2 separate regions of the Homo sapiens genome follow, and region 1 is linked to region 2. The links are contacts of gene promoters, found by promoter capture Hi-C in blood cells and fetal thymus (Javierre and others, 2016). All regions are on one chromosome and are shown on one strand. The core of a region is centred on a gene start or on the middle of the fragment in contact, and the rest is flanking DNA. Distances in the headings are between cores, read along the strand shown.

Region 1 (4,956 bases), core at 149-2,648, 230 kb after region 2:
TGGGGAAGCCAAGATCAAGGATTTATCTTAACAAGCATGGGTAGCACCTGCTAAGACACAGAGTGAGCTGTCTCAAACATTCAAGAAAACACACAGACTCCAACTATACAAGACGAGACTGGAGAGGAAAAGGTTGATGATACAGGTGTGGAAGTTAAGGACGTAGAATTGGTCATGTCACAAGCAAATGTATTGAGAGCAAAGGAAGTCCGAGCCTTGAAGAACAAGAGTAATCATATTGTAACTGCTATTACAGAATTAACAATGTGACCACCTGAAAATGACTGTTTTTGTGTGTTTCAAAAGAATAACTGCAACTTGGTTTGAAATTTGTACCTGTTTCTATCATAAATAAAATTATGGCTTCTTCTTGGAAAAATATTAGAATAAAATAAACATTCAAATTATGCAAAGTCCCACAGTCACTGCACTCCCAGCCCAGGCGATTATTAATGGCCAACCACTTGCCTTTTAAAGAATTTCTTGGCATTCTTCTGCTTCCACAATAAAGGAGACTAATCATCTTTTCTCTTATTTTCACCTCTGTCAGGTCTGGGATCTTCCTTTAATACTACCCTGGGCCAAGAGCAGTGGCTCACACCTGTAATCCCAGCATTTTGGGAAATAGAGGCAGTAGTATCACTTGAGCCCAGGACTTGGAGACCAGCCTGGATAACATAGTGAGACTCCTGTCTCTACAAAAACTACAAAAATTAGCCGAGTGTGGTGGCACAAGCCCATAGTTGAGGCTGCAGTGAGCGGCGGTGGCACCACTGTACTCCAGCCTGGGTGACAGAGTGAGATTCTGTCTCAAAATTAAAAAGAGAATAATCTGGTGTCCCTGAAATGTAAGTGACTGTCCTGAGAAATCCTGATGCCTTTTTTTATTTTTAAACTGCAGAGGTCCTTTGTGAATGAGAACTCTTGTTTTCTTTTCTTTTCTTTCTTTCTCTCTTTTTTTTTTTTTTTTTTTTTTTTTTGAGATGGAGTCTTGCCCTGTCACCATGGTGGAGTGCAGTGGTGTGATCTTGGCTCACTGCAACCTCCAACTCTCTGGTTCAAGCAATTCTCCTGCCTCAGCCTCCCGAGTAGCTGTGATTACAGGCATGTGCCACCACGCCCGGCTAATTTTTGTGTTTTTAGTAGAGACGGGGTTTCACTATGTTGGCCAGGATAGTTTCCATCTCCTGACCTCGTGATCTGCCCACCTTGGCCTCCCAAAGTGCTGGGATTATAGGTGTGAGCCACTGCGCCTGGACTGTTTTCTTGTTTAGCAGTTTGCTCATCTACATATACTTTCAGAGACAAACTGTTCTCAGTATTGAGGATTACAATAAACTCCTTTCTCTAATAAAAGAACACTGACTGAAAAAAAACCCAAACGTATCATTACAGTTATCAATACGTCAAATGTATGCTTGCCACGATTTTTCATATGACAAAGTAATTTTTCTTTTTTGGTAAAATAATTTAATTCTAATTTGGTCTTCACTATTGGGGTTGAATTTAAGTTCTTAACCATTCTGGTCCTTATATTTTCTTTTTTTTTGTTTTTACATCCCCATGAACACCAAGGAAGCTCTGTATATTTTCTGTGGCAACACCTGCAAACTTGTTTACCTCAGCAGTTTGCAAATGCCAACTCTAAACCATCAACTGGGTAACTCCAAACACACACACCACACACACACTCCTCTCTCGCTCGCTCTCTCTCTCTTTCTGGAGTCTAGCTTCCTTCTTTCCTCTCCTCCCTCTCCAAAGAGATTCTGATTTAGTTTTAAAACGCTCACCAGGTAATTCTGACCATCAGCCAGGTTTGGAAACTATTGAGATAATTCCTCACATCTGTGTCGGTCTATCTACCCATCCTGCTTTCCTTATTCCAGAAGAGATTTAAGGTGTTGACTTAATTAAATACAGTAATTTGGGAAACCATTTAAGAAAATAAAATATAAACAGTGGTTTCATCTTTATCTTCTTTCTCATAATTTTGTATTTTTTTAAGTTTTCTGATATATATTATTACAGTGATAATCTTTAAAAAGAATGAAACTTTATAGATATAAAATTGAGTTTGGGCAGGGTGTGGTGGCTCCCGCTTCTAATCCCAGCATTTTGAGAGGCCAAAGAAGGCGGATCACTTTAGCTCAGGAGCTCAAGACCAGCCTGTACAACATGGCAAAACCCCATCTCTACAAAAAATACAAAAATTAGTCAGGTGTGGTGGCGCACGCCTGCAGTCCCAGAGACTCGAGAGGCTAAGGTGGGAGGATTGCTTGAGCCCGGGAAGTGGAGGTTGCAGTGAACTGAGATCGCACCACTGCATTCCACCCTGGGTGAGAAGTGAGACCCTGTCTCACAAAAAAAAAAAAAAAAAAAAAAAAAAAAAAAGGCCAGTCACTTGTTAGAGTTGCTGGGCCTATGTATTATACTATTTTATCCTTGATGAGTTATTAATCAAGTATAGTAATTTGATTTTTACAACCCTGCGCTGACACAGAGGACCAGAGAGAAAACCTTTATGGCTGTGACGTTACAGGTTACTGGTAGGATGTAAGACCTCTAAAATTCTTTTTTTTTTGACAGAGTCTCGCTCTGTCGCCCAGGCTGGAGTGTAGTGGCGAGATCTCGGCGCACTGCAAGCTCCGCCTCCCGGGTTCACGCCATTCTCCTGCCTCAGCCTCCCGAGTAGCTGGGACTACAGGCGCCCGCCATCACGCCCGGCTAATTTTTTGTATTTTTGATACAGACGGGGTTTCACCGTGTTAGCCAGGATGGTCTCGATCTCCTGACCTCGTGATCCGCCCGCCTCGGCCTCCCAAAGTGCTGGGATTACAGGCGTGAGCCACTGCGCCCAGTCAAGACCTCTAAAGTTCTAACAGTTTTTGTTTCCTAGGGTCCTGCAACACCCCGCTGAGAAATAACCCTCGTTATACTTAGCAACGTTATCTAAAATATTAAAAGGTATTTCCTTACTCAATTGGAACTTGAAACTGGAAGCATAGTGGAATCACAGAGTGACTCTGAGCTGAAAGAATCATTCAAGATTCCTTGATCCAACCGGCAGCCCCACGCCCGCTGAGACATGATGAGTTTATGGTCAATCGATTGCTTCCCCCTAGTGGCAAACGGTGGTCATACCACTTTCATTTTTAGACATGTTTAACCTTAGAATCATAGTTTAGAAATTATTTTGCACCATGGATTGCTTTGATATGATTATTAAAACATATACGGTGTGATAGTATTATATAGTATCCATGGTAAAACTATTAGCTAATGCATTTAACAATCACAGCAACAATACCTAAGGCAGTCAAAGCTCATTACTTCTCTAGTTTCTTTCTGATTCACTTATGAAACAATTTATCCCTGATTTATAATATTCCTCCTAAGTCTTAAAGAAAATGCACATAGTTGTGTAGTTATAAATAAGCTCTGTTCAGAGCAGACCACATTATAAGCCAGTATGATTAAGATTCCAGAAATGGCAAATTGCCACCAAATAATTATAGCCTTTGGTAACAAACAGAACAAAACAAAAAAGAAAACAATGACACTTTTAACTACCAGATCCAGGATTTGATAAAATGATCATGCCCAGAACGAGCTTTGTCATTTTGTGGCAAATTGTTCTTAAAGCCTCAACTGAACTCAACAAAGCTTTAAAATCATCTTTTGATTTTAAAAGTGGCGTCCCAGAAAAGCTTATATATAATTATATATATATATATATTTTTTTTTTTTTAATGCTGCCTTATTCAGTTTTCAGGAAATTTTTACATGTATGGTATTATTATCATTTGCCCCTTCAACTACTCTCCTTGGTAGACAGGAAAGGTATTAGTATACCTTTTTTTTTTTGAGATGGAGTGCAGTCACACAATCTCGGCTCACTGCAACCTCCGCCTCCTGGGTTCACATGACTCTCCTGCCTCAGCTTCCCCACTAGCTGGGATTATAGGCATGCACCACCACCCCTGGCTAGTTTTTATATTTTTACTGGAGATGGGGTTTCCCCATGTTGACCAGGCTGGCCTCAAACTCCTGCCCTCAAGTGATCCACCCATCTCGGCCTCCCAAAGTGTTGGTATTACAAGCGTGAGCCACCACGCCCCGCCAATATACCTTTTTTACAGTTGAAGAAACTGAGGCTCAGAGATATCACAGAGCAATAGGGTCCCAGAAATGGGACAAAAATCATGGTTGTTTCACTCTTCTTGAAACGCTTCAGACTTTTACATCCAACTGTCTGCTACGCATTTTTACTGGGATGTCTCATCCACAGGCCCTGAGATCCACCTCATCCCTGGATCCCGTTACAGGTAGTGACACTGCCTTCTACTCAGTCGTCAAACAAGAGGTCTGGGAGACCTCCCCGATCCTTTCTTCTCTATCCTCTCTTGCAACTGATGTCTTGCTGATTTTCCTGACCCTCCTCCACTTCGTATTGTACCCTTGTATTAGAGTGCTAGGGCTGCCACAGACTGGGTGGCTTCAACAACAGAAATTTATTTTCTCATAATTTTGGAGCTAGAAGTCCAAGATCAAAATGTTAGAAAGGTTGGTTTCTTCTGAGGACTCTCTCCTTGGCTTGTAGATGGCTGTTGTGTCAGTCTATTTTACGTTGCTATTAAAGAATACCTGAGGCTGGGTAATTTATAAATAAAAGAGGTTTATTTTCGCTCACAATTCTGCAGACAGAATGCTGCAGAATCTTATACTATGCTTCTGTATAAGAAGCATAGTAGGACAGGGGTGGTGGCTCACACCTGTAATCCCAGCACTTTGGGAGGCCAAGATGGGTGGATCACTTGAGGTCCAGAATTCCAGACCAGCCTGGTCAATGTGGGGAAACTACATCTCTACTAAAAATACAAAAATTAGCTGAGTGTGGTGGCACACACCTGTGATCCCAGCTACTTGGGAGGCTGAGGCAGGAGAATCACTTGAACC
Region 2 (5,079 bases), core at 1,760-4,259:
AAAATAAGAATTTTTAAAAGAAAAATATCATATTGCCAGCATTGTGCTCTGGGAAGCTTATATTTGTAATCTAAAGACAAATCAATTGGAAAGAATATCACCTTTGAGGTCAGATAGACCCAGATCCATTCACTAGCTGTATACAGTTGGGGACTCAACCTGCCTTAGCTTCACTTTCCTAGTCTGTAGAATGAGAATGACAATAAGTACCTCAGAGAAGGTCAAAACATGTGCTACGGGCTTAGCACAGTGCCAATATGACATTAGTGGCCTAATAAATGTACTTCCACCTCCACATTTGATATAGTACTTAATTCTCTTCTGCCCTCAATTTCATTCCTGATGGTGTAAAGGGACCTACTAATCCCAGTGCTGGAAAATCCTAGGAGCTGCAGAGGGCTCTCCAAAACAGGTCGGCTCATGGTGCCTTGATTACAGCAGCTGTGGGCCAACAAAGCTGATAAAGGAATCTGATTTTCCCGTTGTCTTCCATTGTAAAGTTGAAAGTATAATATTTCCTACTGGAACATTTTTTAGCCCCAAGACCTAATGAAATCATTATTAAAAAACTAAAACTTGGGGTTAGACTTGCAGTTTTTCTAAACTTTAGTGTGTATAAGATCATCTAGAGCAATGGCTTTCAATTCTTTTCAGATCCAACATCACCCTTTTTATAACATCCACGTTACTATCTTGAAATTCATAGATAATACACACCTTTTTAAATCTGCATAATTTCTTGACTTTGATTTTTTTGACATTTGATTCTTGATATTTCATTATAATTAAATAATATGTACAGTTGGCCCTCCATATCAATGTGTTCCACATCCTCAAAGTCAACTAACCACAAGTCAAAAACATTTGAGGAAAAAAAATTGATGGTTGCATCTGTACTGTATACATATACAGCCTATTTTTTTATTCCCTAAACAATACAGTGTAACAACTAATTACATAACATTTACGTTGTATTAGGTATTACAAGTAATATAGAGATGATTTAATGCATACGAGAGGATGTGAGTAGGTTATATGCAAACGTTACACCATTTTATGTAAGTGACTTGAACATCCATGGATTTTGGTATCTGAAGGGGTACTGGAACCAATCCCCTGTTGATACTGAGGGACACAGTGTAGTAATCAGATGCTTGCATAGGTAGACTCACCATCAATATGGCAGTTAGAAGTGTGTTGTGGCCAGGCACGGTGGCTCACACCTGTAATTCCAGTACTTTGGGAGGCCTAGGTGGGAGGATCACTCAAGGCCAGGAATTTGAGACCAACTTGGCCAACATGGAGAAACCCCATCTCTACTAAAAATGCAAAAATTAGTCGGGCGTGGTGGTGCATGCCTGTTATCCCAGCTACTCTGGAGGCTGAGGCACAAGAATGGCTTAAACTCAGGAAGTAGAAGTTGCAGTAAGCCGAGATCATGCCACTGCACTCCAGCCTGGGTGACAGAGCAAAACTCTGTCTCAAAAAAATAAAAAAAATAAATAAATAAGTGTGTTGTATTGGCAACCAAATATCATGAGCCACCTGGCCCTTGATGTGATTTTCCAAAATGGTCAACAACTTTTAGTAAAGTTCTTGACCAAAAAGGCTAATTTTCCTCTAGTTTACACAGTGGTTGAATTCCTGTAAAATTTAGTATATATTAAGATCCTGCAGAAAATATTCTAAATACACAATTTGGAATTAAGCAGAGAGCTGTTTAATGTGGATTCCTGACCCCCTGACCCCCATCCTCAGAGGCTTTGTCTCTGTTTTCTAAAGGAACTGGGGGAGGGAGGGGTTGTGCTAAAAAGAGAACTTAAGATGGTAAATTAGAAATCAAAAACCGAGGCCGGTCATTTGATACAGAATCTAGAATAGGAATGTCTATTTCAGAAACAGTTCTACTTGTAATTGCCTGACTTGGTACAAATTTTCTGGGTCAATTTTCCTCATCGACAAAAATGGGTTTTGTTACCTTCAGTATGGATGGGTGGAACTGTGGTTTCTGAGACCCTTTGAAGCTTGCTTGGTTTATGAAGATTATTAAAATTTCTGATAAAAGGCAATGTATAAATGATATACATTCACTATGCAAACTATCATGAAGACCTATTATTCGAGCTTTAGGAAAAGCTGATCACGGTGCTGTCACTTTCCCTTAAAGTCCACTGTCTGAAACCAGAGAACACGCCAGAAAGAAATTTGGCCCGCTAACCTCTCCCCTCACCAAACACTAAACAGACACCAGCTCAGAATCCGAAAACTTGACAGTCTGGCTCCAGTCTGCCCAAGGCCAGTAGTGTGGATTTGGACGACTCACTTTACTTTCAATGGGCTCGGTTTGCTAAGATTTTCAGTTCCATCTTTTACTCATCTAACTGCTCCATTCCTCTTTGCTTCTTCCTTTCCCGCACCTGCCACCATCCTTTCTACCTCCCTAACGACTTTGTCTTTGCGTTCCTACCGCTTCCCGCATTACCCGTTTCGCACTTTCTCATCTCAGATTTCGGTCACCCGCACCCTGCCATCCCCTTGGCTTCTCCTCTTTGGGCATCTCCGGTATTCCTCCCGCAATGTCCTGGCTCCTCTCCAAGATCCAAAAAGGAAGGCTACCATCCCCAGCCCCGCTGTGCACTCGCGCAACTCAGGCGCTGGCCCACACCGTGCGCCCCGGATCCCACACCTCCTTGAGTCCCGATGGCTCGCCCTCACCTACCCGCCCCTCTCTTAGCATCTCGTCCCCCACCGCCATCTCCGCTATCAGCTCGGAGACTCGGGAGCCGCCAGTCACTGTGCCCTGTCCCTCTCCGGAGGCCGCCAGTCACTGTGCCCTGTCCCTCTCCGGAGGCTCTTCTTCCTCTTTAGCCTGGGATCCCCACCTCGGGCAGGGTCCGTCGCCACCAAGTCCAGGGCCGCGCGCCACCCACGTGTCCAAGAGCGCAGTGCCCGCCCACCGCAAACCCCCCAAGGCCGGCAGCTCCTAGCCGCGGAAGCTCTCCCCTTGCACACGAAACCTGCACTGGCTGGGGAACTGCAGACTGATCGCCAGCGGCACGTGCGGGGCGCCGACGCCTCGCCGCAGGGTGCGGGTGCCCGCGGAGCCAGCCAGCCAGAGAACCAGCAGGAGAGGAAAAAGGGTGGGCGCGCGGGTGGGCCCGGGAGGCGGAGACCTTCGGGAAGCTGGGGCCACGCGGCGGTGCAGGCGACGGGACTGCAGTGCCACCTCTCCCGAGAAACCCACACGCTCGCACGCCCGCGCGCGCACGCACGTGCACACGGTGGGCAGGGAGAAAACGAGAGAGTCTGAGTGCTGGGCGCGTTTTAGCGATGGCTTCTGCTCTCAACAGCAAAATTAACCCGCCCGGCACTTGCCAGGGCTCCAAAGCCGACGGTGGCGCCGGCTGGAGAATGGACTGTGATCCCCAGATGCACGTGAAAATGTGCAAGAAGATCGCCCAGCTCACCAAGGTAAGGTGGGGCGCAGCGGGCCAGCGAGCTGCACGCCCGGGGCGCCCGAGCCGGGAGTCAGTGCGGATGCGCCTCCCGGGAGGCCCGGGCCAAATCCAGACAGAAACTTTGTCTCGGAGGCCAACCGGGAAGGGAAGCGGTCCTAAATCTGGGTGACTTGACCTTCTAGAGGCACCATCCTAAAGCAGCAGAGAAAGAGGATCCTTGCCAAGGAAACTCCCACAGCCTGCTGGCTGGGCAGGTGGTCTGTGCTTTTCCAAGGTGGGAATGTGAATCGTGTGTGTGTGTGTGTCCCCGCCAGCTTTGCTCAAGTGCCTAGAATGTTGTGATTTCATTCAACTGCCATACTTTACAGCTGGGGAGGTCATGTGGGCTCTATTTAAACACTTGATCCATTTATTCCTTCATTCAACAAATATTTGCGTCATTTGTTGAGTGCCAGCAGCTTGCGTGGCACCGTACTAAACCTGGAATGCAGCCTAGGGGACTTACTATCAAACTGGGTGCAGACGTGTGTAGGAGCATAAATGGGGAAGAGCACGATTCACCAAATAACTATGGGATTAGGAAGGACCTAGGGAAGTCAGCCAGCCCACCTCCTTACCTCGTGCAGGGGGCTCTGATTGAACCTTCCCAGACTATGTCTTTTTCAAGAAGACCAGCAAAAAGATGCCACCAGTGCTCTTTGTTAACCCTCTGCAGCTCCCCAATTAGAAGCTCCTTGTCACAGACTCCCCTCTGTGCCTTGTCTAGATGGAAAACAACATCCCTCACTGTCTCCTATACAAGGTTTCAAGTGGATGAATTTAGCTGTTTGCCTTGGGGTTTCCTTTCGGTCTCATAATAAACTCCTGGTGCCATGCCCGCCAGGGAGAGGTCAGGTCCAGGTCTGTCCTGTAGCGTCTGGAACATGCTCTCTTTCCTCACCATCTCCCTCTCACTTCCCACACATTTTTTTGTGGGATCACAGACATTCCCCTCCCCCTGTCCCGCCAACCTCACTATTTTGCCAGGAGGAATAGAGCACAGGGGCTTGGAATTGAACACTAGCCGCCTTCTCCCACCTGTCTCATTAACTTCACATTCTTTGCACGTGAGCCTGTCTCCAAACAGGGCTCTCTTTGGTCAAGGAATGAAAAAAGAGACTGGAGATAGCCCTTAGCGTTCTTGACATGTATAGCTGGTACTATTGATCTAACCTACATTCATGTAAATAGTGACATCAACCAAAACATGTATTTATTCAAGTACCTGAAAAGGCACTTGGCACAGTGCAAGGCATCTTCTCTATCTTCAAAGAATCTAAAATAGTTTTAAAGAAACAAGATTTGAAATATTGAGTGAAAGCTAGAAGACTATACTATGTCTTGGGTGCTAAATTGGGTGTTTCCAATTACGAGTGCTATAGAAGTAGAAACAAAGGACAAATCAGTATGGGAGGAACAGTGAGGGGAGATTTTATGGAAGAGATGATCCTTGAATTCAGTGTGGACTTATGGAATTCCTACTATGTGCCAGCTGCTATGCTGAATGTTGATGGCATAACAATTAGTAAGATATGGTCTTGCCCTTGTGGTATGACAAACACATAAACAGATCATTTCAATA

What was found. The method cuts DNA at HindIII sites, captures the fragments that hold promoters and counts their contacts. A CHiCAGO score of 5 or more calls a contact.
Region 1: a contact is called between a fragment that was not itself captured here and the fragment with the promoter of FAM184B in region 2, in 7 of 17 cell types (neutrophils, endothelial precursors, fetal thymus and 4 more). The highest score is 7.4, in neutrophils.

What each region holds. Positions count from the first base shown.
Region 1 is chr4:17,547,428-17,552,383 of GRCh38, reverse strand. It overlaps the pseudogene NACAP5. Among named protein-coding and RNA genes, the nearest start is that of LAP3, 27 kb to the left of the region's middle. RefSeq lists an enhancer at 2,721-2,840. The HindIII fragment of the contact is 4,535 bases long and covers 1-3,665 here.
Region 2 is chr4:17,779,551-17,784,629 of GRCh38, reverse strand. FAM184B (family with sequence similarity 184 member B) reads left to right here and starts at 3,009. Exons shown (of 18, transcript NM_015688.2): 1 at 3,009-3,471. The coding sequence starts at 3,331. The HindIII fragment of the contact is 8,098 bases long and covers 2,027-5,079 here.